Linked DNA regions of Homo sapiens: regions 2 and 3 are each linked to region 1. The links are contacts of gene promoters, found by promoter capture Hi-C in blood cells and fetal thymus (Javierre and others, 2016). All regions are on one chromosome and are shown on one strand. Each heading gives the region's core, a stretch centred on a gene start or on the middle of the fragment in contact. The rest is flanking DNA. Distances are from core to core; before and after follow the strand shown.

Evidence for each region. Contacts are between HindIII fragments. The CHiCAGO score rates a contact against its expected background, and 5 or more counts as called.
Region 2: a fragment that was not itself captured here is called in contact with the fragment with the promoter of LGALS7B in region 1 in 2 of 17 cell types (erythroblasts and activated CD4 T cells); the score reaches 6.3 in erythroblasts.
Region 3: a fragment that was not itself captured here is called in contact with the fragment with the promoter of LGALS7B in region 1 in 1 of 17 cell types (non-activated CD4 T cells); the score reaches 6.1 in non-activated CD4 T cells.

What each region holds. Positions count from the first base shown.
Region 1 is chr19:38,787,655-38,790,664 of GRCh38, forward strand. LGALS7B (galectin 7B) reads left to right here and starts at 1,546. Exons shown (of 4, transcript NM_001042507.4): 1 at 1,546-1,578; 2 at 1,962-2,050. The coding sequence starts at 1,573. The HindIII fragment of the contact is 12,505 bases long and covers 1-3,010 here.
Region 2 is chr19:38,449,167-38,452,176 of GRCh38, forward strand. It overlaps RYR1 (ryanodine receptor 1), which reads left to right. Exons shown (of 106, transcript NM_000540.3): 12 at 2,598-2,719. Among named protein-coding and RNA genes, the nearest start is that of RYR1, 17 kb to the left of the region's middle. The HindIII fragment of the contact is 175 bases long and covers 1,533-1,707 here.
Region 3 is chr19:38,523,194-38,526,203 of GRCh38, forward strand. RYR1 (ryanodine receptor 1) reads left to right here. Exons shown (of 106, transcript NM_000540.3): 69 at 24-116; 70 at 722-736; 71 at 2,139-2,309. Among named protein-coding and RNA genes, the nearest start is that of MAP4K1-AS1, 72 kb to the right of the region's middle. The HindIII fragment of the contact is 230 bases long and covers 1,136-1,365 here.

The DNA.
Region 1 (3,010 bases), core at 296-2,795:
GCCAGTATGGTCTCGATCTCCTGACCTCGTGATCCACCCGCGTCGGCCTCCCAAAGTGCTGGGATTACAGGCTTTATTTTTATTTTTTGAGACAGAGTCTAGCTCTGTCGCCCAGGCTGCAGTGCAGTGGTGTGATCTCGGCTCACTACAACGTCCGCCTCCCCAGCTCAAGCAATTCTCCTGCCTCAGCCTCCCAGGTAGCTGGGATTACAGGTGTCCACCACCACACCTGGCCAATTTTTTGTATTTTCTATAGAGAAGGGGTTTCACCATGTTGGCCAGGCTGGTCTTGAACTCCTGACCTCAAGTGATCCACCTACCTTGGCCTCCCAAAGTGCTGGGATTACAGGCGTGAGCTACCATGCCCAGCCAGGAGTGGTTTCTGTTCAGCTCCCACACCATCCCTGCCTTTCAGAAACAGATTTCAGTCCTGCCCGCCCCCCCCCCCCCCCCCGCCTCCCCCAGTCTACTTCCCCAACCCTGGATTCTCTTCTAGAGTCTTGGGCCCAAGCGGGCTATATTGGGGCTGGCGGGAGGGTCCCCACCTTGCTCTGCTTTTGATCTAGGTGGTGATGGAATGCTAGGCCACCCACCACCCTAAAACCCACCTCATCCTGACCTGCAAAATTGGTGGGAAGATGGTAACAGTCCTGGAAGGAGGAACAAGAGAGACTTGAAGGAGAGAAGTGGGACAGGAATACGCGGTAGACAGTTATAGACAGAGACAAACAGAGCCAGACAGCCAGCCCCAGAGACAGAACCCACAGGAGAGGCACGCCCAGAGGTGAGGAAAGGCAGAGGTTGGGGCAATGGGTCCTGCCCGGCTTGTGGAAAATCACTTCCCATCCCAGCCTCAGCCTCCTTCTCTGTACAATGGGGGTGACCCATGCTTCTCTCTGTTGGAATGGTGGGGTCCCAATCAGTGATTTCCTGCATATCCTGGGCAGCCCAAGGGCCTGGGAAATGACAAGCGTAGTCCTAGTGGATCCCCTCCTTTCACCCCTCCTGACTGAGGACTTCCCATGAACCCGGCACACTCCAGGACCCAGGGGTGCAGCACTGAGCCAACCAGGCCGCCCTCCGACCCTGTGAAGTCCCCCTGTCTGGCACTATCGTCGTTGTTGTGGCTGCTGTTCCACTGGAGACTTAGAAGCAGGGATTTCAGCGCAGACATTTCCAGTCTAGGCAGGAGGTTCTCAGCTGGAGAGAAGGGTCTAGAGTTCCCGCTGGGCTTGGCTTCTCAGGACCCAACATGTCTGTGGATAAAATGAGCATGAGAGACTCTCCTGTGTGCCAGGCAGTGGGAAGACAGGGGTGGAGGGGCGGTGGCTCTTATTATCAGCTCCTAGGAGAGGGGCAGTGCACCCGGGCTCTGGGTGATGGGGGGATCAGGGCCCCCAAGAAGAGGCGCCACTCCCACTTCGCCAGGCTTGCCCCAGGGCCAGGGTCCGTGCCAGGTGTGGGTGGTGGGTGGGAAGGGGTGGGGTGAGTCATCAGGGCCAGCCCCGCCCTGCTTTTATTTAAGGTCCCCAGCAGGCCCCACCACCACGGCTGCCCAACCCGGTCCCAGCCATGTCCGTGAGTGCTCCAGGGGCCCGGGGCGGGGCCAAGCAGGGAGGGGGCTGGGGGCTCCTCTTTCAAAGGAGCAAGTGGGCAGTGAGTGTGCCACGGACTGGCCTGGGCTGTGGCCTCCGGGTAACCCCCATCCCGACTGTCCCCTCTACCTCTTTGTGGCTTCCTCTGGGGCCCTCTTTGAGGATCTTTCTGTTTGTCTTTGTTGCTCTCCCCATCTGTTTCCCTGTCTGTTTCTGGTCTCTTTCCTGCCTCTCCGCCACCCTTTCCTCTTCCACTGATTTCTGCCAGTCTCAGCCCTGGTCGGCTCCTCTGAGGGGTGACCCACCTTCTGCCTCCCTCCTTCGGTCTCACCGGCTCACAGTGGCCCCTGCACCCCACTCTTGCAGAACGTCCCCCACAAGTCCTCACTGCCCGAGGGCATCCGCCCTGGCACGGTGCTGAGAATTCGCGGCTTGGTTCCTCCCAATGCCAGCAGGTGAGGCCCCAGGCCCTAGGGGTAAAGGGTACAGGTCTCAGGATCAGCTGACTCCCAATTTTTGCAGTCCAGAAGTAGGGGCCCGAGGCCACCTGTATCCACCAGGCTAGGAGTCCGAGGCCATTTCTGACCTCAAATCTGATGTATTCGTATTTGCCCCCGTGCCTTTGTGGCTGGGGTCCCTAAGTTTCCCTAAGCATTTGAGGTCCCTGGGTAATCTCAGGGTTCCTAGATATAGTCCTATGACTTCCATGTCTGAGTCCCAGGGAACTCTGGAAATACTCCAAGTCCTGGAGACACCCTGGACCCTGGGAGTCCTTGCCAAGCCATCCTTTGACTTCCTGGCTAAGGAACTTCGGGCCTTCTGGATTCTGAGGTACCCTGGAAATACTGGGGTTCCTGGTATTATTCTTTGTCCTGTAGAAGCTGAGGGTTCCCTGAGCATCAGGAGCACCCTGGCTATCACCCAGACCTCCTGGGCAGCTCCCAGGCTCTTTGGAAATGAGGGCACCCTGCCCTAAGCGTAGTGAGTTTGGTCTGGGTAGGTTTCTGCCAAGGGCCTCATGATATTTTGGCTGCCTTGGGAATCTAAGCTCCCTGGTCATTAGTCGCCCACCTCTCCTTCTGCGGTGTGTGCCTGTCTTCAGGTCCCTGTTAATTTGGGGGTACTCTGGGAATGGGGAGTGCCAGCCCATAAGACCTTCACTTTGGTCTGGGCGGTTTATGTTTTGTTTGTTCTTTCGTTTTTTTGTAAGGTGGGGTCTCGCTATGTTGCCCAGGCTGGTCTTTAACTTCCGGGCCCAAGCGATCCTCCCTTCTCCACCTCCCAGAGTGCTGGGATTACAGGGTGAGCCACTGCACCCAGCCAACATTTCATTTACTTATTCATTCAAAGTAAATTGTAGACATCGGTATTCCTCACCCTCAACATTTCTTGGTCTGGGTGGTTTCTGAGCCCTG
Region 2 (3,010 bases), core at 370-2,869, 340 kb before region 1:
AACAGAGACACGGCCGGGCGTGGTGGCTCATGCCTGTAATCCTAGCACTTTGGGAGGCCCAGGCGGTTGGATCACCTGAGGTCAGGAGTTTGAGACCAGCCTGGCCAACATGGTGAAACCCTGTCTCTACTAAAAATACAAAAATTAGCCAGGCGTGGTGGCAGCTGCCTGTAATCCCAGCTACTCAGGAGGCTGAGGCAGGAGAATTGCTTGAACCTGGGAAGTGGAGGTTGGGAGTGAGCCAATATCGTGCCATTGCACTCCAGCCTGGCTGACAAGAGTGAAACTCCGTCTCAGAAAAACAAAAACAAAACAAAACAAAAACAAAAACAGAGAGAGTGAGAAAAAGATGGATAATGACCAACTGAGAATAACTTTCAACAAACAATTACTGAGTACCCGCGTTGTTCTGGTTGTGTGTGCAGAAAATAGATGAGCTGTAGCGACCTGTTCCCTGCCCTCCCAGTGCTCAGAAATTGTGAACAAACTGCCTTTAGTGAAGTACATAGTTTTACAATTAAGGAGTGGGAAAACTATTTTTGGCAGCAGGAACAGCATGTGCAAAGGTCCTGAGGTTAACATGAGCTTGGCTTGTTGCAGTAGCAGAAAGAAGCCACAGTGTGGAACAGGGTGAGCAGGCTGGAGTAGTGGTTGGTGAGGAAAGAGAGGGGATGGGAACAGCTCGTGTGAGGCCTTGTGGGCCATGGGAGAGGTCTAGTTTTGTTTGTTTGTTTGTTTTTTGTAGAGACGAGGTCTCATTATATTACACAGGCTGGTCTCAAACTCCTGGGGCTCAAGTGATCCTCCTGCCTCAGCCTCCCAAAGTGCTGAGATTAAAGTGAAGTGTGAGCCACTGCTCCTGGCCAGGTTCTAGTTTTTATCCTGAGTGAGATGGGCTCACAGGAGATTTTGAGCAGGGCAGGGAAGTGACCTGACGCAGGATCACAGAATTCTTAGGCTGTCTCTGGGAACAGACTACGGTCAGGGGACAGAGCCAGAGCAGGGAGACCAGAGAAGAGACTGCCATGATGTTACAAATGGGAGATGACAGTGGACAGGACCAGGAGGGGACTGTGGAGTTGGGAAGAGTAGTAGATTCTGGTGGGGTCCTGAGGGTAGAGCCAACAGGATTTGCTGACAGATTGGCTGTGGGGTGAGAGAAGGGGAGGGGTTGAGGATGATGCCATGATTTTTTGCCCCAAGCAACTGGAAGGATGGAAGTGCTGAAACAGCCTCATTGTCTGGAGTATCACCCAAGGTTTGTGGTCTCACAGCCACAGAGAACAAGGACGCAGACACACAAAGAGTGAGGTTAAGAGGGGACATTTAATAGGCGAAAGAAGGAGCTCTCTACTGCAGAGAAGGGTCCCAGAAAAATGGGTTGAAATGCAGGGGGTTCCATGGTGAAATGCAGGGGGCTTTACAGATGAGCTGGTGGGGAGGTGGTATCTGATTTACCTAGGGTGCAAAAGACTGGTTGGACCAGTTGTGCCATTTGCATAGGGCACAAATTTCTGGCTGCCTCCACCCTAAGCTTTTATTGTACAAGCGGGTCCTCTGCCTGAGCTGGCCATGTTGCCCATTCCTTTTCTGTACAACGTGGAAACAATAAATAAATAAATAACTAAATAAAGGGAAGATGGAGCCTCCATGTTGGACATGCGTAGCCCCAGGTATACCTTTTCTATCGGCACATTCCCCCATGCAAGCTTGTAGCTCGATTTTCCAGGCTGCTCTTTGTTAGAAAAGAAATTATTTTGGGGGCTGCTTTCCGTTAGAAAGGAAACTCTGCCGAGGACTCTGTTGCCCTTACTCTCTGCCTAAATAATTTTTTTCTACCTCTTGTATCAGTGCCATCAACCAAGTTAGGGGACAGTCAGTGTTGGCTCAGAAGGACAGGGATCTTAGGCTTTACTGCCAGTGCCTAGAACAGAGCCACTTACTACAGCCTTGCTGAATGGACAAGTAGGAATCCTTGGGGAGGCACTCGTTTGCAAAAACAGGCCTGTAGTTGAATACATGAGCCAAGGGCGTAGAGACGGGGCCTGGGCCATGTCCAAAGTGGGGACACGTGAGCATCATCAGCAGGTGGATGGTGTTTACAGCCGCAGACTGGATGAGTTCTGGGGAGGTCGGCTTGGGGTGAAGCTGGCAGCCATGATGGTCTCACCTCGTGGAAAGGTGGTCTGGCATTCTATCTGGGACAGGTTCAATTTGGGGGTTAGAGCTTTCTGGTCGGGGGGAATGTTAAGTCAGCAGTAGGTACAGGTGGAAAGGGTCTGGCCTGGAGACAGAGACAGGAAGGAGATAGGGATAGAGAGATAGAGAGGGAGAGGCAGGGACAGAGGTGAGAGAGATAGAGAGACAAAGACAGACAAAACCAAAAACAGGGACAGAGAGAGACAGAGAGGAGAGAGAGAATCAAAGACACAGAGGAGACAGATGACGGGGGACAGAAAAATGAGGAGGAATTTGCAGTGAGATTCTGCAGAGCAGGGAGGAGGGGGCAAGTGCAGAACTCAAGTCTAGACAGACGTCTTGGGGGCATGGCCCTGGGTGGCTGGGCCCACTCCAGACCTCTGTCTCCCCACTCCTAGGCCATGCTGCACCAGGAGGGCCACATGGACGACGCACTGTCGCTGACCCGCTGCCAGCAGGAGGAGTCCCAGGCCGCCCGCATGATCCACAGCACCAATGGCCTATACAACCAGTTCATCAAGTGAGCAACCTGCCCTCCCTGCTGGGGTGACTCCTGTGCTGTCCCATGCTCCGGGCATCCATACACTTGGCCTCTTTCATCTCTACCTCTGTTGCCCACACCCTTGTCTAACATATACATGGGCCAAGCGCAGTGGCTCACACCTGTAATCCCAAGACTTTGGGAGGGCAAGGCATGAGGATCGCTTGGGCCCAGGAGCTTGAGACCAGCCTGGGCAGCATAGGGAGACCCCGCCTCTACCAAAAAAAAAAAAAAAAAAAAAAAAATTAGGCTGGGCACAGTGGCTCATGC
Region 3 (3,010 bases), core at 1-2,500, 260 kb before region 1:
TGCAACACTGCTTCCCCCACCAGAACTTCAAGCGCGAGGAGCAGAACTTTGTGGTCCAGAATGAGATCAACAACATGTCCTTCCTGACTGCTGACAACAAAAGCAAAATGGCTAAGGTCGGGGCTTGGTTCTGGGAGGAGCACTTGGCAGAGAGGGCGGGAGCACCCTCTAGGACTTCCTACCTGGCCTGTCCTCACCCAGCCAGCCCGTCCTGGGCGCAATCCCTGCAGTCCTCAGAGCAGCCCCTCTTACCTCCTCTCCCTCTCCCTTCCTCCCCAGCTCCTTCCTCCTCCTGTATCTTCTCCCTCCTCCCATCTCCCTCCTCCTCTCCATCTCCCTCTTCTCTCATCTCTGTCTCCTTCCTCCTCCTGTATCTTCTCCCTCCTCCCATTTCCCTCCTCTCCATTTTCCTCTTCTCCAAGCCTCTCTCTCCTCCCATTTCCCTCCTCCTCCTCCTCCCCATTTTCCCCCTCTTCCATTTCTTTCTTCCTCTCCCCATTACCCCATTTCCTGCTTTCCTCCCTATCCTTCTCAGCACTGCCCTTCTCAGGTCTCAGAGAACGACCCCCCACCCCGAGCCAAGGCCTGGAAATGCCCAGCTAGAGAATACATGGCGGGTGGGGCAGAGGAGGTGGGGTGCTGGCAACTTGGAGTTGGGCCTGGGCTTCTCTGCGGGGCTGGGGTAACCCTTCTTGTCTCTGTCTGCGGTCCGGTGAAGCAGGCGGGAGATATACAGGTCAGCCCCACATCTGGGACCTTCCGCATGTCTCTTGGCTAATGCCCTCTTCCCCCAGCCTCTGCACGCCCCCGCCTCGAGAAAACCCCTGCTTCTGTTCCCCACCCCCGTCCTCCCCTCCCAGCCCCCACCCATCCTCCTTCCCTTCCCTTCCCTCCCCACCACCCCCATCCGTTCCCATCCCAACCCTCAGCTTTTGGCAATTTGACTTCTTTTCTTTTTCTTCTTTCCTTTTTTTTTTCTGGACTTTTGTTCCCAAAAAAAAAAAAAAAAAGAAAAAAAGAGCAACTCTCAGCTTTTACCAAAGCATCGTGGGCTGAGGTCAAGGGTAATGGGGGTGGGAGAGGCACACGGAGCATGGTTGGGGAGGGGGCAGCACCCTCGCCGTGGATGGTTTAAAGCTTGGGCTCTGGACTGTATGGACTGGGGTTAGAATCCTGTCTTGATAGTTAGCCGTGTGACCTTGGTTGGGGTCATCCTTTTGAGCCTCTGAGGGCATCCAGCCAGCAGCCCCCACCCCAGGGCTCTGCGAGGACTCAGGGAGAAGCTGCATGTGTGGCCTGCAGCAGTGCCTGGCACAGGGGTCATGCTCAAAGTTGCCAGCCGGCGTGGATGTGGCTCTGCCCAAAAGCTTGTCATCAGGGCTTCTCGCTGGCGTGACTGGGGTGGCCCTGGCCCCGGGTCTGCACCCAAGGCTCCAGAACACGGCTGTGGGACTCTGTGCCCTGTGTCTCTGCTTCCAGATCTTTCTGGATGTCTCTTGCATCTTTGGTCTTCCTGTCTCCTTGTCTTTTTCAGTCTCTCAGTGTCTTTTTCTTGCAACTTCTCTTGTCGCTTGAACTCTTTGTGGACCTGCATCTTTGTTTCATTCTTGAGAACTTGGTTTTGGGATGTGAAGTGTGGGGTTGTGCATGCTGTGGAGGGGGTATTGTACTGGGGTTCCTAGGGGATTCTGGAAGAGGACTGCTAGAAGTTGAGACAGGCCCAGAACGGGGGAAAATCTGGATGGGCCTGGGTTAGAAATTGGAGCCAGGCAAGCATGGTGGTATGTGCCTGTAGTCCCAGCTACTTGGGAGGCTGAGGCAGGAGGATCACTTGAAGCCAAGAGTTCAAGTCCAGCCTGGGCAACATGGCAAGACACCATCTCTAAAAATAAATTTGTTTAAAAAACAAGAAACTGGGAATTTGGGTTGTGGACTTGGGTCTGGAGGGTCTCCGGTCATGGCTGTGGGCCTGAAGTGTAGAGTCAGCAAGTCTGGGGTGGAAATTGAGGTGTCGTCGGCAGTTGGGGAGGGAGTGCCTGGTGTCCAGACTGGGGCCTGGGGTGTGGATGATGGCCGCGGGTTGGGGCTGAGGCATGGGATTGGGGCTTGGGCTGGTGCTGAGCCCTGTGTCCCCACAGTCCGGTGGCTCGGACCAGGAACGCACCAAGAAGAAGCGCCGGGGGGACCGGTACTCTGTGCAGACGTCACTGATCGTGGCCACACTGAAGAAGATGCTGCCCATCGGCCTGAATATGTGTGCGCCCACCGACCAAGACCTCATCACGCTGGCCAAGACCCGTTACGCCCTGGTGCCTGCCCAGCCCCGTCCTCGGAACCTTCCAGGATGCCGCCCAGCACCCACTGAACCCCTGGGACCTTAGGGAACAACCACAATGCCACTGAGCCCCCCAGGTCCCTGGGAGCCTTCCCTTCAGACCCCACTGAGTTCTTTTCCGGGATGCTGAGGACTCACTGTGCCCCTGGGATGCCCTGAGGACCCCGTTCAAGATATTGCCAGGGCACCACAGACCTAAGAGCCCTCACTGAAACCTAGAAAAGCTCTAGGACCCCTGGGACCCGCATGAGGACTGCAGGACCCCACTGCCCCCCCACCGGACCATGCCAAACCTGCTGAGACCCTGAGAGTCCCCCCAACAAGATGAGCCCCTGAGATCCTCTGAACCCTCCACCAAGGCCCCTTCAAGCCCCTTGGGACCTACTGAGACCCTCATGACCCCTCCTTCCCTCCCTGCCAAGACTGAACCTCTGGGTTCCTGCTGAGCCCTTGGCTCACCATCCCTTTCCTTCAGGACCCTGCTGACACCTGGGCCCTGTTGAAGCCCAACTAAGCCCCCAAGACTCTCAGGGGCTCAGGGAGCCCTGCGACCCTGCATAACTCCCCAGGATCCATGAACCCCAAGCCCGGGACTGTACCCAAACCTCTGAGGTCTCAACTGTCCTGGAGACCAAAATACCCGGGCTGTAGAACCTCTTAAGCTTGCTGGGATAT